Linked DNA regions of Homo sapiens: regions 1, 2, 3, 4, 5 and 7 are each linked to region 6. The links are contacts of gene promoters, found by promoter capture Hi-C in blood cells and fetal thymus (Javierre and others, 2016). All regions are on one chromosome and are shown on one strand. The core of a region is centred on a gene start or on the middle of the fragment in contact, and the rest is flanking DNA. Distances in the headings are between cores, read along the strand shown.

What was found. The method cuts DNA at HindIII sites, captures the fragments that hold promoters and counts their contacts. A CHiCAGO score of 5 or more calls a contact.
Region 1: a contact is called between a fragment that was not itself captured here and the fragment with the promoter of SLC27A3 in region 6, in 3 of 17 cell types (M0 macrophages, M1 macrophages and total B cells). The highest score is 7.9, in M0 macrophages.
Region 2: a fragment that was not itself captured here is called in contact with the fragment with the promoter of SLC27A3 in region 6 in 1 of 17 cell types (neutrophils); the score reaches 5.0 in neutrophils.
Region 3: a fragment that was not itself captured here is called in contact with the fragment with the promoter of SLC27A3 in region 6 in 1 of 17 cell types (naive B cells); the score reaches 5.1 in naive B cells.
Region 4: a contact is called between the fragment with the promoter of PGLYRP4 here and the fragment with the promoter of SLC27A3 in region 6, in 1 of 17 cell types (neutrophils). The highest score is 6.9, in neutrophils.
Region 5: a fragment that was not itself captured here is called in contact with the fragment with the promoter of SLC27A3 in region 6 in 1 of 17 cell types (naive CD8 T cells); the score reaches 5.0 in naive CD8 T cells.
Region 7: a contact is called between a fragment that was not itself captured here and the fragment with the promoter of SLC27A3 in region 6, in 1 of 17 cell types (naive B cells). The highest score is 6.5, in naive B cells.

What each region holds. Positions count from the first base shown.
Region 1 is chr1:154,175,555-154,178,550 of GRCh38, reverse strand. TPM3 (tropomyosin 3) reads left to right here. Exons shown (of 10, transcript NM_152263.4): 3 at 2,303-2,436. Among named protein-coding and RNA genes, the nearest start is that of TPM3, 15 kb to the left of the region's middle. The HindIII fragment of the contact is 2,735 bases long and covers 136-2,870 here.
Region 2 is chr1:153,366,837-153,369,872 of GRCh38, reverse strand. No RefSeq gene overlaps it. Among named protein-coding and RNA genes, the nearest start is that of S100A12, 7.3 kb to the left of the region's middle. The HindIII fragment of the contact is 2,641 bases long and covers 1-2,623 here.
Region 3 is chr1:154,257,794-154,261,179 of GRCh38, reverse strand. UBAP2L (ubiquitin associated protein 2 like) reads right to left here. Exons shown (of 27, transcript NM_014847.4): 21 at 2,150-2,203; 22 at 1,151-1,232; 23 at 71-288. It overlaps SNORA58B (small nucleolar RNA, H/ACA box 58B), which reads right to left and starts at 1,453; the gene lies at 1,318-1,453. The HindIII fragment of the contact is 872 bases long and covers 1,533-2,404 here.
Region 4 is chr1:153,347,440-153,350,641 of GRCh38, reverse strand. PGLYRP4 (peptidoglycan recognition protein 4) reads left to right here and starts at 1,801. Exons shown (of 9, transcript NM_020393.4): 1 at 1,801-2,114; 2 at 2,664-2,758. The coding sequence starts at 2,710. The HindIII fragment of the contact is 10,086 bases long and covers 1-3,202 here.
Region 5 is chr1:154,206,417-154,209,626 of GRCh38, reverse strand. LTAP1 (lipid transport auxiliary protein 1) reads left to right here. Exons shown (of 7, transcript NM_001098616.3): 7 at 1,979-2,907. The coding sequence ends at 2,174. Among named protein-coding and RNA genes, the nearest start is that of CFAP141, 1.7 kb to the right of the region's middle. The HindIII fragment of the contact is 1,373 bases long and covers 1,082-2,454 here.
Region 6 is chr1:153,773,993-153,776,964 of GRCh38, reverse strand. SLC27A3 (solute carrier family 27 member 3) reads right to left here and starts at 1,558. Exons shown (of 10, transcript NM_024330.4): 1 at 801-1,558; 2 at 238-447. The coding sequence starts at 1,467. It overlaps INTS3 (integrator complex subunit 3), which reads right to left. Exons shown (of 30, transcript NM_023015.5): 30 at 2,157-2,972. RefSeq lists a silencer at 931-1,122 and an enhancer at 491-1,157. The HindIII fragment of the contact is 7,576 bases long and covers 1-2,972 here.
Region 7 is chr1:154,235,021-154,238,384 of GRCh38, reverse strand. It overlaps UBAP2L (ubiquitin associated protein 2 like), which reads right to left. Exons shown (of 27, transcript NM_014847.4): 6 at 3,094-3,189; 7 at 1,774-1,819; 8 at 1,249-1,361. Among named protein-coding and RNA genes, the nearest start is that of UBAP2L, 16 kb to the right of the region's middle. The HindIII fragment of the contact is 7,636 bases long and covers 1-3,364 here.

The sequences.
Region 1 (2,996 bases), core at 254-2,753, 400 kb before region 6:
TTAAACAAAGTATCAGATCTTGATTCTGCAGGCTTTTGTTTCATTGTAAAGAGAACTGATCCTCTGTGCTAGGAGAAAAGAGAAAGGCAAGGTCCCATTCCCTACCACTCCACCCTGGAGGGGGTCTCTGAAGCTTTTTCTAGGACTCCCATCTCAGGTTCTGCTTTTGATACAGGCTTGTTCATGTGTGCATGCTCTTAGGAGGGCACCAAGATGTGTTTTCCCCCTCTCCCTTTTCAGCCTTGCTAAGAATTCTATTGTAAATGCTGATTTGTGGGAGAAACTGCCTGAGCCAGCTTGCTGTCATGGCAACTGTACACCCCCGCCCCATAGCCTGTTATCTTCTACTCCAGTTTGGGTAACTACTGGTGAGCTGCATGATGTCTTACATTTCATGAGCTTCCTCTAAATCTAGTTGTATTTTTCGTCTGAGGGGGGTAAGTCATTTTACTAGCAGTGTCTCCTAGGTCTTGCCTGATAGCCTGACTTGCTCTTGATCCATGGCCTTGTTGGGTTTGTGAGGAGAAATGTGTGTTGTTACAGAGAACATCTATTTTTCTGGAAGAGGCAGAAGCAGAGAATACTTGTCTTTGTGGTGTTTTGAGTAGTGTAGTTAGAGGCACAAATGGTTTCTTAATGATTTCAGCTTATGTTGACTTCTCGATTTTCTTTGCCTGGTGGCTAGATTGTAGCCCCAGCCCTCTGCTTCCCTTCCTAGTCTCTTCAGCTTCTCATGTTTGTATGTGGAAGTTTTTGTGCCAGTCCTGATGGTTAAAAAGGAGTCTTTTGGTCTATATTCTTCCTCATCGGAGCTAGTGGCCCAGGCTGTTTCTATAGCTGCACCAACTCCTGCCTGCCAGGAAGAAATCAGGGTAATAGAATTCAGGCACAATCTGGGCTATAGAAGAGAGATCGTGTTTACCAGGCACTTGGATAAGCATCTGAACTGGGTGGTGTGCGGGGCATATTAAATTCTTGTATACTGTTGCAGTCAGGGTACCTCCCACCAGTAAAGGTAGCGGGGAGGCAGTCATGGAAAGAGGTTTTCCTACCATTAGAATTTATCCATCCACCTGCAGGCTGCCTCCTTCTTTCCTTGTTTCTTAGAGAAAACCCATCCAGGATGGGTTTACTTGGACTCTAACCTATATACTTCATTGTGAGATGGAGGCCAGGGGGAAGATTGTCGCTGTATTAGAGGGTGAAGCTAAGGGGATGGCTGGAGGAATAGAAAGGAGAAAATTCAGAAATTTGGAGGAATGGTAGTGGGTGTGGTGGAAATGTTCTTTCTTTTTTGTAAAGCTATCAAAGCAGATAATTTTAGCCAGAAGCAGCTCCTTGTAGCCAACTTAAAAAAGGAGTACGGGGGCACAAGTTGAAGGGCTGGTGAGTAGGCATCCCAACAATATTCCATTCTTTTGCTTTCCAGTCTGGAAGGCTATTCTGGAAGACATTCCCTTGGCTAGTTATTCTTCTGATGTGTTAGGGTAAAGTGATCATAGGAATAACGGTTTGAGTTAAGCAGCAATTAATAGGTAATCCAGGATTCCCTCTTTTTTTTTTTTTTTTTTTGAAATGGAGTTTCACCGTGTTGCCCAGGCTGGAGTGTAGTGGCGCAATCTCAGCTCAGTACAACCTCTGCCTCCCGGGTTCAAGGGATTCTTCTGCCTCAGCCTCCCGAGTAGCTGGGACTAGAGGTACGCGCCACCACACCTGGCTAATTTTTGTATTTTTTATTAGAGTCAGGGTTTCACCATATTGGCCAGGCTGGTCTCAAATTCCTGACCTCATGATCCACCCGCCCCAGCCTCCCAGAATACTGGGATTACAGGCATGAGCCACCACACCCAGTCAGGATACCCTCTTTAAGAAACCTTGCTTTTTTTTTTTTTTTTTTCCTGCTTTATGAGACACTTGAAAGGTTACTGAGGATGAGACATGCCTCCAAGCCAGAGCTCAGGCAGAAGGAACCCTTCATTGACTTTCTTTTCTGACTCCAGTGTGTTGAGGAATTTGAACTGAGTCCAGGAAGTGGGTGGTACTAACTCACTGGGCTGGGCAAGGAACTGAGTTTTAAAACACTCTTCCTGTGGAACATATGGGAGTTCGTTGATGGGAAAGGGAGGAAATATATATATATAAAGTTATGTCTGCTAGATCTTTTAACAGCTGAGCTAAGACAAGTTCTACCCTGCGAGACTCTGGCTTTTTCATGGTAGTCAACCCTGATCTTAATGTCATAGTTATTTCTTCTTTTCTCCATGCCTCTGCTTCCCTTGTCCATTCTTTCCTTCAAATGCAGGCTGAGGCTGAGGTGGCCTCCTTGAACCGTAGGATCCAGCTGGTTGAAGAAGAGCTGGACCGTGCTCAGGAGCGCCTGGCCACTGCCCTGCAAAAGCTGGAAGAAGCTGAAAAAGCTGCTGATGAGAGTGAGAGGTGTGTAGGGAAGCCTGATGGAGTGTGGATTTTAAAAGTTCATAATAGTTCTGATCAAGATTTCCTTATAGACCTGTTTTCTAAATAGCAATTCTGGCTGCGTGTGATGGCTCACGCCTGTAATCCCAGCACTTTGGGACGCTGAGGCAGGAGGGTGGCTCAAGCCCAGGAAGTTGGGGCTACAGTGAGCTCTGATTGCGCCACTGCACTCCTGGGTGACAGAGAAAGACCCTGTGTCAATCAGTCAATAAAAATAAAATACTAACTCCATCACACAGGATCTCCTTTCTATTCTGCATATTCTGTCCCCTTGAAGACAGTAAGGGTAACTTAGATGTTGTGACCCTTTTGTAATTGGTATTTCCTTACAAATTGGCCTAATGATCCTTAAAATGGGATCACCAGTATGACTTCTACTTTCTGGATCATAAGCTTCTATTTGTGAGATTAATTTCTCTAAAACAGAGGTTCTCTAAGTAAGGTCTCAGACCAGCAGCATCAGCAATACTTGGGAACTTGGTAAAAATTCACATTCTCAGCTCCTATGCTGATCTGCTGAA
Region 2 (3,036 bases), core at 54-2,553, 410 kb after region 6:
AAAGGAAACAATTGCAGTTGTGTGGAAAGTGTGCGAGAAAGTAGAAGCCTGTAGATGGGGTTGAGGGGAGAGCCTGAAGATGGGGGTGAAGTGGGATTGGCAGAAAAGGAAGGAATGTGTGACCCAGGGAAGGGAGTCCTGGAATGGCCCAAGCCTGGAAGGCTTCTATCACCAAATGTGAATGAGAATGTGAGAGCATTTGGGGAAAGCCTTCCCTCACTGCATGACCTTGGCCAAATCACTTTGCCTCTCTGGGTCTGTGTTTTCTTTATTTTTGAAGAATTCAAAGGAATTTTAAACATCTATTTTGGAAAGTTTTAGACTAGGTGAATACTCAGGTGTCACCCAGTGTTAGTGCTCTGAGAGACCTCAGTTGGATAGAGGGGAACTTGGTGCAGGGTCTAGAAGGAGAACATCACTTAGTGAGAGGGTAGGAAGGAGGATGTCCCTTGGTGCTAAAGAGTAGCAGTCGAGAGTGTGAGGCTAGAAGTTATGCTTCTGTATTCAAATCCTAGCATTGCCACTTACTAACTGTGAGACCTTGAACAAGTTACTTAGAATCTTTAAACCTCAATTTCCCCATCAGTAGCATGGGGATAACCACAGCACCCCTCTCCCAGAGTTGGTGAGAGGATTAGGTCATCTCCTTTTTTTCCTTTTTTTATTTTTTTATTTTTTGAGATGGAGTCTTGCTCTGTCTCCCAGGCTGGAGTGCAGTGGCGCGATCTTGGCTCACTGCAAGCTCCGCCTCCCGGATTCACGCCATTCTCCTGTCTCAGCCTCCCGAGTAGATGGGTTTACAGGTGCCCGCCACCACACCAGGCTAATTTTTTTGTATTTTTAGTAGAGACGGGGTTTCACCGCGTTAGCCAGGATGGTCTCGATCTCCTGACCTCGTGATCTGCCTGCCTCGGCCTCCCAAAGTGCTGGGATTACAAGCGTAAGCCATGCGACTGGCCAAGATTAGGTCATCTCATAGCACATGGAAAGCACTTGGCACAGTATCTGATGCAGAGTAAGCACTCAACAAACATTAGCAATAACAGTAAGATAATAATTTAGACAGGAGGTAACGATTGTAGCTGACCCACCCTCTGCCACAGCACAATAGGTATAGATTATTTTAAACCAAAGCAGACTGAGGTTATATTTAGGGGTGGCTTGGATAGTTAAAGTTGACCAGTGTAAGATAAGGAACCAAGGGAAGTTATGCAATATCTTCCTCTAAAGGCCTTTGAACTAGACCAAGCTGTTCTGCAAACTAGGCCACTCCCTTGATGCACTTACCTTGATTTGGGACCACTTCTGATATATATAGTAGTATTAGAATCTGTTAAAAAAAAAAACAACAAAAAAACCAACAACTAACCGATGAGAGCAAAAGTCCAGCACATTTGCTATTGTGAAAACATTCACCAGCTGTAATTTTGTTTCCAAATAGCCCACTGAACCACAAATTGAACTTAAATCATGGCTAGAAAAATTTTAAGGGCTGCTAACCTTGGTCAAAATCCATCAGTCAGCGGCACCTAAGGACAATGACAAGGGCCCTTGACTTGGAATCAAATGAGCTTGGTTAGACTCCCAGCTCAACTGCTTGGCTCTGTGAGTTTGGGCGAATGGCTTCCCTTCTCTGAGCCTCAGTTTTTTCATGTATATAGTGTGCTGTTTGCACAAGTGATCTCCAGTCCCTTCATGAATACACAGAGACTAGACCCTGTGACTGTGGCTGGTGTCGTGGAACAAGCAAATGAACACAAGCACTGTTAGATCCACAGAGCCCAGGGATTGGCCCTGTTGCTTCTGGAGGCCCTGTCTCACTGTCACCATCTGTCCACCCCCAGAGGCCCTATTCTCCAGCCACTCTAGAACAGTCTCTAGTTTCTCCACGGCTTTGAAACTTCTTGGGTTTTGCTCCTGCTGTCCTCTTGTTCTCTTTGTCTGAAGTGCCTTTTCATCCCTTCATTCACAAACATTTTTTTGTGTCTGCTCTGTTGCAGACACTAGGCTACCTGGGCCCTTCTCTGGCTCTAGAACACCTGCTTATACACCATGGCCTGACTCAACCGTCACATCCTCCAGGGAGCTCACCTGTTCATATCTTCCTCATGTATTTCCATCAAGAGTAGACTTTAGGCCCCTTCCAATTTGGGGCTGACCTCCCTCTTCTGCTCACTGGCTGCTGCTGGAATGATGAGCCTGACAAAGCTGTCTGGGCAAAGGCATTACTGAGTGATAAAGGACACCAATAACACTCTTTTGGGTGCTATATGTGCAATACTTTGCCCTCAGGAGGATATTTCAGGCAGGCTTCCAGTACACCACAAGCCAAGCCATGCCAGCCTGTGCATCAGGCTCTTGGAGCTCAGGAGAAGGATCTGGGCTCAACAAAATGACTATCAGAAGCCCCTGATGTGAGAATGGCTAGGTCTCATCATTTTGACTTGGCCAACACAAGAAGCCTTTCAAGTTTTAAGATAAAGCAAACTAAAAATCTGGAGGGCAAGAGCCCTTACTTCCTATGTTTCTCTGATTTCTTTTATTGCCTAACACAGCACTGGGCACATGGAAGTGCAATTCTTGCCCTCTGAAAACTCAGCTTGGGCATTAGTCCAAGCAAGCTTTCCTTCTCTCTCCTTCCCTCTACCCCTGCCCCCCGGCTCCCCTCTACCCCCTCCCCCACACCACAGCCAATAAGACGGCAAAAAGTGCCTTCTGTACTCTCTGGGCATCTTGTGCTTATCATCTGCCTTTGCTTGTCTTTTGCCCACAACATTGTATTATAGAGAAAATATCTGGTAATTGTGCCCCCACTGGACTGAGGGCTCTGTGAAGGCAGGGAATCTAGCACACTATTTGACATAAGACCAGGCTCATCAGCCTCCTAACTGGTCCTCATGCTTCTACTCTGGGGTTCTCCAGGCTACCCTCCACACAGCTGCCGAATATTCTCCTCCAGATACATCATATCACATCACCTGCCTGATTAAAACCCTCCAAAGGCTCTCCAATGTGTTTGGGGTGAAATCTTCGTTG
Region 3 (3,386 bases), core at 719-3,218, 480 kb before region 6:
AAAAGCAGCTAGGATAGTGTCCAGGGCTAGGATCCTTCACCACAAGGAGTGACCAAAGCCAGGTACTCACAGGGAACACAGCAGGCCCATACTGGAAGGTGCTGGGGAGGCCCGGGACCCCTGTATAGTATGGCAGGCTGGTGTAACTGTAGCCAGGAGGCAGCGCCGGGTTCAGGAATGTCTGCTGCGTGGTATGGTGAGTCTGCGTCTGGTTCTGTTGGGGTTGGGCCAAGGTTGTGGCCGGGGCTGGGGAGGAGGCATCCCCACGGCCGAACTTTGTGAGGTCACCTGTGACAGGAGAAGCTAAATGTACCTGCCTCTTTCACCCCAATACCAATACAGAATTACCTCTTCTGATTTCACATGATTCCAGGAGATCCTGTTCAAAGACTATTAAAGTTCAATTCCTTGAATTACATTTCTTAGTGGCTCCAATTATTGTTGCTCAGCATACACTTAGCACAGTTGCTGCAAGTCAAGGACTAATGTTGAATAACTGTGCAATGCTATGGCAGGAGGCTCTTGGAATAAGGCACCTGCACAATTTCTCTGCCCACTTGTGTTCTCTTTCATCTTCCCTCTTCTTCCCTCCCCTCTTCTCCTCCATGGGGAATACCCCATGCTGGACTTGAAGGACAACGATGGATCAGGGAAAACGGTAAGTCAATGAGGACAATGATAGGTCAGGTAAAAGAAGGAGTGGCAAGGCAGTGAGATTGCCACTGTGAGTAGTAGCATAAAGGGGCAGAGATGAGCAGAGAAGACCACCTCAACCACTGTATTTCCTGGAAAAAGCTAGCAAATGGCTTGAAACTAAGTCAAGATATCACTTTTTTTGGAGATGGGGTCTTGCTATGTTGCCCAGGCTGGTCTTGAACTCCTGGGCTCAAGCAATTCTCCCACCTTGGCCTCCCAAGTAGCTGAGACTACAAGTGTGTGCTACCATGCCTGGCTAAGATATCATCTAGAAATCACAGGGAGACAACACAAAGTGGGATGAATAGGAAAAGCCATGACATGCCCAACTTTAGCAGGATTTTGAATCTACCAATCCTGATTTATCACATCCCTTCTTGCTACCAATCAGGTGTCTGCCATCAATCCCAACACTATCTCCCTTTTTATTTATTTAGTCCCATCCCAATCCTACCAGAATAAGGGTTGCTGGCCAGGCTACCATCCCTCCCAGTCAGCGGAGTAGTGGGTGTGGGAAATGGGATGCTGTAGTAATCCTAGAAAAGAGGGGAAAAAAGAGCAGAGATTCAATGTCACTCATTCCCCAGCATGAGTACTATTTCCACGGAGGAAAAAACAGAAGAATGTGAGAGTTGTGCAATTTATCCAGTCACTAATTAAGCTGGCTAGAGTTAGCACAAACTCCACATTACTCTTGCATACACTGTCCCCCCTGCCTGGCCATGAGCACAGTCAGACAAGGTCTACGGGTATGCCCACTTGAGAATACATCAAAGTCCACGAGGACCAATATTTTCAACCCTCTAGGTGTCATCCCTATCAGTTTATACCAAGCTTATTCTACTGAGAAAACAGATCATTCGATAATTTAAAGTGTCTGGGACAAACAGAAAGCACCCTGAGTGCTCCAGAGTACTTTACTGGGCTATAGAATAGGTTAAAATGTATTTACTAAGATGCCACAACTCTGATTTAAAAAAAGAAAAAAAAAAGGCTGGGTGCGGCGGCTCATGCCTATAAGCTCAGCACTTAGGGAGGCAGAGGCGGGTGGATCATAAGGTCAGGAGTTCAAGACCAGCTTGGCCAAGATGGTGAAACCCCGCCTCTACTAAAAATACAAAAAAAATTAGCTGGGGGTGGTGGTGGGCACCTTTAATCCCAGCTACTCGGAAGGCTGAGGCAGACAATTGCTTTAACCCAGGCGGCGGAGGTTGCAATGAGCCAAGATCACACCACTGCACTCCAGCTTGAGCGACAGAGAAAGACTCTGTCTCAAAAAAAAAAGTTATCTTCTGTTGGAAACCCTCCCCCAAATCCCTATATTCTAATATGCCTTAAATCAGAGTGTATGGAGGGCTGGGATGGGAAAGAGCTATGTCTGTGACGGAGATAATTCTCCCAACACTAATTTTAAGACTACTTTCTTTTCCAAAGCTCTATCCCACATACTCACCAATGGAAATCTTGTCTGAAGCATCTGCAAGTCATCATAACCATATACTTGTGGCTGAAAGATACAGACATATAGCAATAACAGGAACTGGTCATGATGTTAGCAAAACAAGGAGCCAAGAGACAAGCTAATTCAACAGAACATTCATCCTCATTCTGGGTTAGAACAGGACACGGATTATTTCCTTCAATTTTATTTAAGGAAAAAGCAGTAAAGTACACAGAGATTAAATGATTCATGAAAGGTCTTGAAGCTTTCCTTGAGCTAAATACTACTGATTCTAGTAGGCTGGCTTCTTGATACCAATAGAGTAGACACAAAACATACACGAACAACCAGTTTTACTCTCTATTCTACAAGTCTCTGTCTCTTATACTCTTCAAAATCTGGCTTAAAAATAATCTCCTCTGGAAAGAATACTTCACTTTTCTCCAATGTCAGGGTTTTAAGGTAGTGACCACAAATTAAAAATGTGTAACTGTGTTATTTGGATGTGTCATCGGTATGAAATTTATCTAGACTTTGTCTATGAGGGCAGGAACAGGTATCTTCTAAAACGTTTCCATATATCCTTCATCTTAATAGGTACCAAATACTTGAAGGTCACAGAAGATACACTAGGGCAAAAAGCTACTAATGTCAGCCACTTATTCTCAAAGTCCCAGATTGAGTCAGGAAACTTTCCTCTAACCAGGCCAGACCAGCAAACACACTCAGAGTTAGGGATTTAATCAAATCAGAGAAAATAATTCTTGGGGCCAGGAGTAGTGGCTCAGGCCTATATATAACCCCAGTTATTTGAGAGGCTGAGGCAGGAGGACTGTCTGAACCTGGGATTTTGAGACCAGCCTAGGCAACATAGGAAGACCCTGTCTCTAAAAAAATTTTTAAAACTTAGCCAGGCATGGGGATGCACACCTGTAGTCCTAGCTACTTGGGGAGTCTGAGGTGAGAGGATTGCTTGAGCCCAGGAGTTCAAGGCTGCAGTGAGCTAGCTATGATCGTTCCACTGTACTCCAACCTGGGTAAAAGAGCAAGATCTGCCTCAAAAAATAAAATAATAGTCATAATTATCTAAGAAACCAAAAAGGATTCCAGATGAACATTCTGGCCTTTGGCTTCTGAGGCCCAGAAGCTGTGTTTCAAACAGGGCAGATATTCTCATCACACATATACATACACATTGTACGCACACACACACATGCATACATGTGTGCACCATAAACCAAAGCAGATA
Region 4 (3,202 bases), core at 552-3,051, 430 kb after region 6:
CTTTCTTTCCTTTCTTTCTTTCTTTCTCTCTCTCTCCCTCTCTCTCTCTCCCTCCCTCCCTCCCTCCCTTCCTTCCTTCTTTATCTGACAAATGCTTATTGAGTTTCTAACATGTGTCAGCATTATGCCAGACACTAAGCTAAACCCTGAGACTACAGAATAAAGTAAATTCCCACTTCTGTGAAATTCACAGCTGGAGGGAGGCTTAAGACAGAGGACAAAAAAATGTAAATATAAATAATGATAGTATTAAAGGCAGGTAAAGAGATAGACTTGGGAACTGCTCTTGAGGAGATTATAATTACAATTCATTCAGGTGCTAGAATGGAGAAGAGAGACTCTGAGCCTCTACCAGTCCCAACTAGTCACGGAGCCCTTTCCAAAGATGCCAGGCTGAAGTGGAGCCTCTGGGCGCAGGTGGGGAGCGAGGCTGGGCACTTGGGAAGGGTCTTGAGATGGTGGGAGGTGGGGCAGAGAGCACTGGGAGCCTGCTCTGGCAGCGTGGAGTGAGATGGGGCTGGGGGCCAGATAATTTAGGACTTAGGAGGTCCTCTCGGGATTCTGAGTTCACAGAATCAGAGAGGGACAACCCACACTGCTCTCTTCCTCCCTCCCGATGCCCTCGTCCCGGACAGCCCTCAGTCTGTTAGTCCTCAAGAATCTGTTGGTCTCTGGATGGGGCAGAGAATCTGTTGGTCCCCTTTGGCAGCCACCACCCAATCTCTTCTTGGGCTTCCCCTCCCCAAGCCGCTCCAAAAAGGGGAACCGAGTCTCCTCAAGTCCTTGGTGCCCCGGATGCAAGCCCAGAAACCTTCTCATTTTGAGAACTGTTCTACTTATTTAGGATGGGCGGCCAGCAAAAGGCATGGAGAAACAGCATGTTGCCAGGCTGGGGAAACTACCAGGGTCCCTACAGTGCTGGTCCCAGGCTGCAGTTCTTGGTCTCCTTCATCTCTGTCTCTGGCTCTGCCCCACATTCACCCTCACCCCAGGACAGAGCTCAGCAGCCCCTGCTCATCACACAGCTCCAGCCTGGGTCTGGGTGCATGACTGGGATGAATGCCAGGTAGACCTGGCGCATGCTCAATGGGCCCCATCCAGAGAGCGCTCCTGGGGAGCCCAGTCTGAGAGTGGGACTGCAGCTCACTGAGAGCAACTGTTCTGGATTCAGGGCACTTCCTAAGTGTCTAGGGAGGCTGCCCCACCCTCCGGGACATGAGAGGCTCTGCAGGTCCCCGTGGAGACTGCATCCTACTGCGTTCTTGGAAAGTGTCATGCAGAGTTTCCTCTGTGAAGACTCAAGGGCTGTAAGTCCAGGTTGCAGAATGTGGAATGAGATTAGGTGACAACTGGAACATGGCGAGGAGCTGGAGATTCTTGGTTTGTGGGAGGCTTTCTGTGGTAGGTGGCAGCTTGATGCCGACGGTGGGGAGTGGCAGGCGGGAGGATGATGGGCAGACATGTAAGCTATTGGGGCAGAATTAGGCATCGTGAGCTGTTTCCTGAGATTGTACCTCCCAGTTTCTCTCTGTCCATCCTGACCCTGCTCATGACCCTGGTAAAAGGTGGTGTTGGTGAGTGACTTCAATCCACAGTCTTCAGGCTCCTGGAGCAGAACTTCACAGGCAGGAAGTTTCTAGATGTTGCAGACACAACCCTCAGGCCCTGCAGGCTTTCCCAGGTTGGGGCTGAGGACGAGCTCTCGGGAGTGTTGGGCAATCTTGCCCTTTCCCAGGGAGGAGCTACCTGGGCTTATTCACAGGGCGGGTCCCCAGGTGCTCTCAGCCTGAGTCTGGTCCCACTTGCATTTCTCCAGGTGCTGTGAAAGGAGCTGGCTCAGAGCCTTGCCCTCTGTCTTCCCTTCTCCCCATCTTTTGTTAGGGATCCTGGGCTCTCTTCTCTCTGGGAAGCTAGAGCCCGAGTGCTCCATTCCCAGGGAGGGAGTGCCCTCTAGGGCTAGGGAGAGTGAAGGCTGGAGGAGAAGGCGCCAGTTGGTGAAGAAGGGCAGGGCCTGGAGGCCAAGTCTGGAAGGGAAGGAGCTGCTGGCCAATCAGGGGCAAGCTGACTGCACCCTGACCTGCTGGGCTGGGACAGCACAGGACCCACAGATATCTGTGAGTTGAGTATGTGTTTCTTCTTCAGAAGCCCTCTTCCAGCAAAGGGACTGGAATCCACCAGAAAGAGTGTTAAGGATTGGATTTCCTCTGCCCTAGAACTAGGAACCCCTCCTACTCCTATATCTCCCTCATCTGGCATATTCCCAGCTGGGAAGGGATTCTCTGCATAAGACCCATCCATATGAGTCTGGATTTCTCGGTTGTACCATTCTTGGATCTTACTTCCTTTGTCTGTAAAAATGGGGGTTAACAGTCTTACATGACAGGATTAGTGTGAGGACTAATTAAATAAGACTGCATGTGCAAGTGTGTACACAGCCTTGCACGCCGTGGGCACGTGATGAAATTGAGTTCCTCGGGTAATAATAGGACAGGGATGCTGAGCACCTGCTGTATGCTGGGGGCCCTGAGAAGACTGAAGCAGGTGCTGGCCCTCAGGAGGCCACAGGATGGTAGAGGAGGCAGATGGCACCCACTGCAGTCAGGGTTTGGGATGCTCTGCAGATTGAGAATGGTCATGTTAACAACTGTCAGCGTCTCTCTCAGGCTGCCATCCACACTCTCCAGATTGGTGTCCTGGGACCACGTGGGGATGCTGCCGTGGCTTCTTGTCTTCTCTGCTCTGGGTATCCAGGCCTGGGGTAAGTTTTCTTTCCCTGGGCCAAAAAGCAACCGAGAAGGGTGATCCTAAAGTCTCATAATAGGAATTAAAAAATACCTACTGTCCATCTGAGCCTGAGGAGTTCAAGGCTGCAGTGAGCCGAGATCCCACCACTGCACTCCAGCCTGAGTGACAGAGGAAGAACTTGTCTCAAAAACAAACAAACAACAACAAAAAAAACTACTCTCTCTTGGCCAGGGGTGGTGGCTTATGCTTGTAATCCCAGCACTTTGGGAGGCCTAGGTGGGCAGATCACGAGGTTAAGAGATCGAGACCATCCTGGCCAACATGGTGAAACCACGTCTCTACTAAAAATACAAAAATTAGCTGGGTGTGGTGGCACATGCCTCTAGTTCCAGCTACTCAGGAGGGAGGCTGAGGTAGGAGAATTGCTTGAAGCCAGGAGATGGAGGTTGTAGTGAGA
Region 5 (3,210 bases), core at 519-3,018, 430 kb before region 6:
CAACAGAGCAAGACTCCATCTCGAAAAAAAATTAGCTGGGAGTGGTGGCGACCACCTACCTGTAGTCCCAGCTACTCAGGAGCTGAGGTGCGTGTACCACTTGTGCCTGGGAGGCAGAGGTTGCAGTGAGCCAAGATCATGCCACTGCCCTCTAACCTGGGCAACAGAGTGAGACACTGTCTCAAAAAAAAAAAAAAAAAAAACTGCTTAGAGCACTGATGAAAATGAACATGTAGAAAGGCTGGAAAAGGGCATTTGGTCTAGAAGTCAGCAGAAGCCTGTTCAAAATTCACTTTCTTTGAAAGATAAATACTAGATGATTCCAGTTATATGAGATACCTAGGTAGTCAAACTCAGAGACAGAAAGTAGAATGATGGTTGCAGGGGCTGGAGAGTGGGGGAAATAGGGAGTTGTTCACTGGGTATAGTTTCAGTTTTGCAAGATGAAAATGTGGAGGTTGGTTGCACAACACTGTGAATATACTTAACACTACTGAACCATACATTTAAAAATTCTTAAGATGGTAAATTTTATGTTACATGTATTTTACCACAATCTTTTTAAAAATTATTTCTGAAGGCCAGGCATGGTGGCTCACGGCTGTAATCCCAGCACTTTGGGAGGCTGAGGCGGGTGGATCACCTGAGGTCAGGAGTTCAAGACCAGCCTGGCCAACATGGTGAAACCCTGTCTCTACTAAAAATAGAAAAATTGGCTGGGCATTGTGGTATGCACCTGCAATCCCCAGCTACTCGGGAGGCCGAGACAGGTCGCTTCAACCTAGGAGGCAGAGGTTGCAGTGAGCCAAGATTGTGCCACTGCACTCCAGCCTGAGCAACAGAGAAAAAGACTCCATCTCAAAAACAAAAAATTATGTTTGATTTGTAGTTTCTAGGAATGTTCATTGGGTTTAGTGAAGAGTATAGGCTTTGAAATCTGACAAACTTAGGTTTGAATCCCAGGTCTGTCACTTAACTAGTTTTGTGACCTCATACAAGCTAATTATTGGACCCTTAGTTTCCTAATCTGCAAAACAAGGTGATACCTATATTGGGGATACCTGTCTCTGAAAAAAAAGCTTGAGCCAGAGGCAAGAACTCTGGGAAATTGGTTTCTCTGCTGCTAGTTGTTTTTGGTATGAGTAGGTGTGTGTCAGGGTACCCAAACAGGGCCTTTATTCTGTCACCCAGGCTGGAGTGCTGCTACTTTTTTAGGGTGTGTGTGAGAGAGAGAGACAGGGTCTCAGTCTGTCGCCCAGACTGGAGTGCAGTGGCACATTCATGGCTCACTGCAGCCTCGAATTCTGGGTTCAAGCGATCCTCCTGCCTCAGCCTCCTGAGGAACCAGGACTACAGGTGCTTGCCACCATACCTGGCTAATTTTTTGCAGAGATAGGGTCTCACTTTGTTTCCCAGACTGGTCTCAAACTCCCCTGGGCTCAAGCGATCTCTGGCCTCTGCCTCCTGAAGTGCTGGGATTACAGGTATAAGTGACCATGCCCAGCCTCTCTGCTACTTTTTTTTTTTTTGAGATGGAGTCTTGCTCTGTCACCCAGGCTGAAGTGCAGTGGCGCAATCTTGGCTTGCAACCTCTGCCTCCTGGGTTCAAGTGATTCTCTTGCCTCAGCCTCCCGAGTAGCTGGGATTACAGGCACCCGCCACCACTCCCAGCTAATTTTTGTATTTTTAGTAGAGACAGGGTTTCACCATGTTGGCCAGGCTGGTCTCGAACTCCTGACCTCAAACAATCCACCTGCCTGGGCCTCCCAAAGTGCTGGGATTACAGGCGTGAGCCACCGCGCTCAGCCTCTTGTATTTCTAAGCTACTAGATGGGGTTTTAGTAACTAGTTTACAAAATAGGACAGATAGGACACAAATAACTATTTGTGACTATTGCTGCATTTATGGCCTGGGATAAGCCCTGATTTCTTTGATTAGTCCTCATTCTGTCAATGACCTCCCCTCTCTGTTCTTCAGGGTTAAAGCACGAATTGGGAGCTCTCAGCGACATCACCAGTCAGCAGCCAAAGACCTAACTCAGTCCCCTGAGGTCTCCCCAACAACCATCCAGGTGACATACCTCCCCTCCAGTCAGAAGAGTAAACGTGCCAAGCACTTCCTTGAATTGAAGAGCTTTAAGGATAACTATAACACATTGGAGAGTACTCTGTGACGGAGCTGAAGGACTCTTGCCGTAGATTAAGCCAGTCAGTTGCAATGTGCAAGACAGGCTGCTTGCCGGGCCGCCCTCGGAACATCTGGCCCAGCAGGCCCAGACTGTATCCATCCAAGTTCCCGTTGTATCCAGAGTTCTTAGAGCTTGTGTCTAAAGGGTAATTCCCCAACCCTTCCTTATGAGCATTTTTAGAACATTGGCTAAGACTATTTTCCCCCAGTAGCGCTTTTTTCTGGATTTGCATTCAGGTGTTATTCTTAATGTTTCTGTCAAAGCTTCTTAAAAATCTTCACTTGGTTTCAGCCATAGTTCACCTTCCCTGTTCCAGGTTTATTTAATTCCAAAGGTGAGAGTTGGAGTGAGATGTCTTCCATATCTATACCTTTGTGCACAGTTGAATGGGAACTGTTTGGGTTTAGGGCATCTTAGAGTTGATTGATGGAAAAAGCAGACAGGAACTGGTGGGAGGTCAAGTGGGGAAGTTGGTGAATGTGGAATAACTTACCTTTGTGCTCCACTTAAACCAGATGTGTTGCAGCTTTCCTGACATGCAAGGATCTACTTTAATTCCACACTCTCATTAATAAATTGAATAAAAGGGAATGTTTTGGCACCTGATATAATCTGCCAGGCTATGTGACAGTAGGAAGGAATGGTTTCCCCTAACAAGCCCAATGCACTGGTCTGACTTTATAAATTATTTAATAAAATGAACTATTATCAAATAAAACGTATGAATCAGTCCTTTATAGTTGTCTTTTAATAAAACAGGCATTTGATAATGTTATCTGCACATTTCTAACAGGGTATAGGGCATGAGGATTTGCCTCCAGAGAATTGGTGGGACTGTGTGCATACCCTGGACCTACGACCATACACATACTCCTTGGGACCCTAGCACAAGAAATCCTAAAATCAGGACTGTGGCCCTTGCTCATAGATGCCTGTGTCACCAACAGAAGGCTGCAGAACAAGGATTCTCTCAAGGTTTCTGGGGCAACAGGCCAGGTGGCCAATCAACTCCTAGGCCCAG
Region 6 (2,972 bases), core at 309-2,808:
GAGGCAGGACAGAAGCTGAGGACCGAGACCAGGCTGTCCTGGAAATATGGGTGGTCTGGGGGAGGTGGAGAAATGAGTAGGAGGTGAGGAGACTGGGGAGTGAAATGATGGGGAGAAAAAGGATGTGCCAATGAAATCAGCATCCTCTCTGGGGGCTTTGAAGGAGTGGTCTGGGAGCAGACCCCTGCCTTCCTCTGCCTTGGTTTCGGGGAGCTAAGTATGGTGCCCGGCCCTCACCCGTGGTGCCAGAGGTGAAGATGTACAGGCACGTGTCTGTTATGCTCTGGGGGGAAGAGAGGTATCCTGGCACTGGCCCATCCACTTCAGCGGACACTTCAGCCAGCAAATCGCTAATTCCAGCAGGGTGGGTTCCTGGGCCTGCAGCCCACAGGTGGAGCCCCATGGCTCTCAGGGCGGGCAGGTCCGGCTCCAGGGACTCCAGAAACTCTAGAAGGGTGGGAAAGCACAACGCCGGGGCCCTGGCTCTACCTAGAAGAGCCTATGACCCATGTCCCCTCCCTATCCCAGCCCACACTGCTCTTGGATGAGGGTGAAGGGTATGGACATTCCATCTTGGGTCTGAGGCCTGGAACTCGACTCCTTGGGGATCCTTGGGGCACCAAAGATTCAGCCTCATCCCTTCTCAAACCCGGAGACTCCTATCTCCACCCACTTTCGAACCCCAAGGGATAGTCGGCTTCTTCCCAGGCCCAGGGATGAGACCAAGCCTTTCTGTGGTCTCCGACACGCCCCCTTCTGTGGCTGGCCCCGCCTTAGTCAGTTCGGAGCTCCAGCCTTACCTGGCGCCAGCACCAGCGCGCGCGCGCCGCAGCTGCGGAGGCAGTGCAGCAGGGGGCCCCGGCGCAGGGCGGTGGGCACAAAGGCAGTGCGCAGGCCGGCCTTGGCCAGCCCGAACCAGAGCCACAGAAACTCTGGGCCAGCGGGGAGGAGCAGCGCCACAGTTGCTCCAGGTGACAGAGGGGCGGCGGCTCCTCCACCTCTGGCGGCACCGTCCCCTCCGGCAAACTCCGCGCCGCTTCCGGCCGCTGCATCTCCGGCTCCCGGCGCTGCCCGCTCGCCTTCTCCAGCGCTCCCCTCGCCGCTGTCGCCGCCGTCGGGTCCCCAGTCCCAGCCTAGCGCACGTAGGAAGGCGCGTGCAGCCCTGTTACTCTCGCGCTCCGCCTCTGAGTAGCTAAAGCGCCGCGAGCCGTGAATGAGAAAGGTGTGCGCGGCGCGCTGCTGGGCCAGTTCCGCGAGGCGCCAGGCCAGGCTGCAGCCCCCCTCGGGACCTTCCGGGTCGGCGGCAGCCGCGGCCAGGGCGCGAGCTCGAAGAGCCCTTTTGCAGCACAGAGCTCGCACCGCAAAGGCCAAGTCCGCCGGAAGCCAGCGCAACTGCGGCCAGAGGTGTAGCTTCAGCAGCAGCAGCGGTAGCAACAGCAGCAGGGGCAGCAGCAGGAGGGCAGCCATGGAGCCCGCTTCCTCTATCGGCACCGTCTGGTTCCAGCCGCTCGCAAACATCCCTGATCCTCCCTTCCGAAAACCTAGGGCCGCTCGTTCTAGCTGAGACTTCTCCTTCCAGGGAGCGCGCGTGCGCTGGCACACGCCCATTCCCACCCAGGCCCCCACCACTCCACACGGGCGGAGAGCAGAAACCCGGGAGGAGTGCGGGTGTGGGGCGGCCCCGGACTCCCAGCCCTCCCCCCACAGCCTACGCTCCGCCCTAGGCGCGCTCCCTCCCGGACTGCTCGCGGCTCGCACCCTACCAGGTCCTGGGCGGTGCTCGCGCCTTCCCTGAATCCCAGGGTTATGTCTGTCTTCTAAGTTGTTTCTCGGCTTGGGCGGTTTAGGCATCTGGCTAAGCCCTAGAGTCCAGGCCTGAGAGCCAGGGCGTTTGGATCGCAGTCCATCTTCCCCTCAATATTTCTCGTTTTCCCGTTAAGGGAAGGTACCATTGCTCTCTCCCAAAAGAATGAACTTGGCCCCTGGCCCATTTGGTTCTGCAAGTCCCGGCCTGCCAGCCGCAACCCCAGGGGATGGGTGGGGGCTGAGAGTTAAATAGGGGAAAGGTGGAAACCCAGACTGCCAGATTTCTGAGGGGTCACGACAGAGGCCCCTCCCTTTGGGCAAGGGTACAATAATTGGGGCCAGCCAGCAAATGCTCTCCATCCTGGTTTTAATTGGGACAGAGGAAACTGGGGAAGGAGAGAGGAAGGAAAAAGAAGCCTCCAGTGGTTTAGACTTTCAAAGGAAGCAACAGCAGTGATGAGGGAGGGGAGAACCTGGATTCTGTAAAAAGACAAATTTTCGGGGTGAAGAGGAGCAGCTCTGTGCAGTTCGCCCAAACTTCACTCCTCAGTCCACCTCCATTCTCCCTGGACAGCGGGGGAACAACAGCATAGCCAAGGAACTCTCCTCTGCTGGTTCACATGGCCCAGCAAGTGGCCACACTGTGGAAGGAAGAGCATCTCTGTCCCTCCCTGGTATCCAGACTTTATCTCCAGGTACAGTTGTCCCTGGAGACCAAGCTGGAGCATCCCTCCCGTCAAGCAGCGAGTCCTCCGGCCATTCTTGGTAGGCACACAGACTTCAACTGGAGGATGACAGACCTTTTGGAAGCATCTTGTTTCTTGAGAAATGAGTAAGGACAGGCCTCATCCTACGGGGGATGGTTCTGCATAGACAGATCAGTGCCTGGCTCCCACCTCCAGTGGCAGCAGGAAGGATGGGTAGTGGCCAAAGCCAAGTCCCTTCTGCTCTAGACAAAAGTGGGGGCAGAACAGGAAGGGAAAGGGGGATGTTCTGCGGTTACAAGTAGGGGTGCCAATCAAATCAAGACCAAGCTATACATGCACGGGGCAAATGCCAGCAGACACTCCAGCACAAAAGACATTCTGGCTTGTTTTATTGTCATTTAAAAACAACTTTTAAGACACGATTATCTCTGCCAAAAAAAAAACAAAAAAAAACAAAAA
Region 7 (3,364 bases), core at 826-3,325, 460 kb before region 6:
TGCTACCACTGCCTCTACAAAGCCATCAAGAGATGAATGAAGAACAGTTCTAATGCCTCCGAAGTATAGTAAGTTAAACTATAACAGGACATTTCGTAACTAAATGATGCAGAAATTCAAAGATACCTATCTTGTAACTCAACTTCAGCCTCCACCCATGAAATGTGTTAAAAATGAATTTATAAGATAGCAACTTGGCGAACAAAAAGCAGACGACATTCAGAGCCTCAGGAATAATATATTGTAGGAAAAAGGTGGAAAACTATTTGTGCCAAAGGCTCTCCTAAAGGCCCAGAGATCACGTATCTGTGAAAGGTGACAAGGCAAATTTAAACAGGTAAGGAGTCAAACATTTCAGGCCCTACTCATCCCCCTTTGTAAGAGGAAAAAAAGCCTTAGGCTCTCATGTGTTAGCTCAGCCAGAATGAGGCAGCTGTTCAAGAAAGCACTCCAGAGTTTTCTTACTAAAATGAACTGCTCTTATTGAAAGTGGCACACGTATCCACCCCCAAACACATCTTAGGTGTATACCACAGCTTAACATATCCTTAAACATTTATATCCAGCCCAGACGCAGGCACCAAAGTCAGTTAACAAAAAAGTAATCTTATTCAAACCCTGAATACTCCATCACACCAAGAAGGCTGTTCAACAGGGCACCAGAAAGGCTAGAGAGATTTCGAAATCTTCTTGTTCAGATACTGACATGTCCCAAAAATAAAGGGAAAAAAAGGATATTCTTATCTCAGTAACAGAAAACAAATAAATGGATAGTGTGGACTTTGATTCTAGGCCTTGTTCATCTTTACAAGCAGTGGCTTGATTAATTCTGGCTATCTTTTCAAAAGGCAACACTACCCTAACATAAACACTAGAAAATACACTTGGACCTAATAGCAGTGACATAGCATAGTTGAAAGGGCATGGACTTTCAGGGTCAAACAATGCTGAGTTCAAATACTAGCAAATTTATAACCTCTCTTTCGGCCTTAGTTTTGTCATCTGGAAAGTGATGATAAATAATGATTATTTCATACAATATCAAGCAGCATTAAGCGAAATAACATGTGTAATGTGCCCATATGCACGTTACATAAACAGTACACACAGTAATACAACTGCCAGCCCTTTCTCACCCTATCTCCATAACCAAACACTATTCTTCCACGTTTTAATGTAAGTATAATCAGAAAAAACTATTTCCTTAGATTCCCAGAGACAAGAAATGAATGATAAATGGTCACTCACTCGTCCCATCATCTGGTTCAAAGTGGCCAGTGTTGTTCCACGTATTGCCGCTGCTATTGCCATAGTTATCATCAGTATTGGCTGGCTCTGCATAATCAGCTGGGTTAAAGGTTCTGGAAAAAATAAAACTTAAGAGTCTCTGACCTCTAAGCAGCTTTGGCAAATATTAACTCAAAGAATCAAAATCTTGACTGCATCCTTCCTAGTACAAATCTGTCATGGCCCCATTCTATAATCCTGTGTGTCATCTACTTTTTCTCACTTATCACTCTACCCAAAATTTCATGGTATAATCTCAACATATATCTAAGATATTCTGAGAAAAGAACAGGTATATTGATTCAAATAAAGATATATAAAATATAGGTAATGATCCAGGTGGTAAAGGTTTATCCCTAAGAAATGAGCCCTAAGTCCCCATATCTTTCTGACCAGTCTAGAAATCATTCTGATCATTTTGGTTAAGGCTGCCTACAGTAATTTTTAAGGGAAAAAAAATTAAGACACTAGATCAATGAAACTTACCCCATTCCTTGAGCAGAAAACCTTCCTCCTCGCCTACCAGAGCCACCTAAAGAAAGAATGAGAAAAAGAGAAGAGAGATGTATTTTAGAAGTTGATATAAAACTTCCTTGCCAGGCAGGCACAGTGGCTCCCGGTGGTAATCCCAGCACTTTGAAAGGCTGAGGGCGGGCGGATTGGTTGCATCCAGAAGTTCGAGACCAGCCTAGGCAATAGAGCAAAACCCTATCTCTATAAAAAGTACAAAAATTTGCTGAGTGTGGTGGCACACACCTATAGTCCCAGCTCCTTGAGGGGCTGAGGCAGGAGGATCACTTGAATCCAGGAGGCAGAGGCTACAGTGAGCTAAGACCGCACTACTGCACTCCAGCCTGGGTGACAGTGAAACCTTGCCTCAAAAATACAAAAAACTACCCTGCCAGCTGAGGCAGCTCTGGAATAAAAAGTGGTTGATACTATCAGATGTTCTTTCTCTCTGTCCCATGTTACACATCAGTAATAGAGTAGGACAATCATTACTGTTGAGAGATTTTTCTTTTGCTCTCAGACTACCATGTCCTCAAGCAAATACAATACTAGCAATAAAGACTAGAGGAAATGACATCTACCTTCTTTCTCACTCTCCCCTTCTGCAATCTCTAGTATATGCATGACACCTCAGGAATTAACTAACTAGACTTCATGTTAATTTGTTTTTAAACAAAGTAGACCCTGGAGCCAAGTGCTGTCTCTCACACCTATAACCTCAGCACTTGGAGAGGCCAAGCAGGAAGATCTCTTGAAGCCAGGAGTTTGAGACCACCCTGGGCAACATATTGAGACTCCATCTCTACAAAAGCATTTAAAAATTAGCGAGGCGGGCGCATCACTTTAGGTCAGGAGTTCGAGGCCAGCCTGGCCAATGTAGTGAAAGCCCATCTCTACTAAAAATACAAAAATTAGCTGGGCGTAGTGACGCACGCTTGTAATCCCAGCTACTTGGGAGACTGAGGCAGAAGAATCGCTTGAACCCGGGAGGCAGAGGTTGCAGTGAGCCAAGATCGCGCCACTGCACTCCAGCCTGGGTGACAGTGCGAGACTCCATCTCAAAAAAAATTAGCCAGGCATACTGGCGGCCACCTGTAGTCTTAGCTACTAGGGAGGCTGAGGCAGGAGGATCACTTGAGCCCAGGAGTCTGAGGCTGCAGTGAGCTATGACTGTGCCACTGCACTCCGGCCTGGGTGAGAGTGAGACTACCTCCAATAAAAAAAAAAAATAAAGCAGACCATTAATGAATAAAGAGTAACCTGCCCCCAATATCCATCCCCCAACAAACTGATCACCTCTGCCTCGGCCACGGCCCCTTCTGCCTCTTTCTGTTCCTCTTCCAGAAGGCCCTCCACTCTTGGTGCCATCCAATCCATTTTCCTGACCTCGAACTGAAATAAAAATAAAAATTAAAACAACAACAACAACAAAAAAACCAAACCACAGATGGCCAGAGCACAGTCAACAGGATATATACAAATATATAAATGGTATGTAATATGGTATTGGGAATTAAAAAAACAACGAAGAGAAAATGAGCTGGAAGGATGGGAACATGTTTCTCAG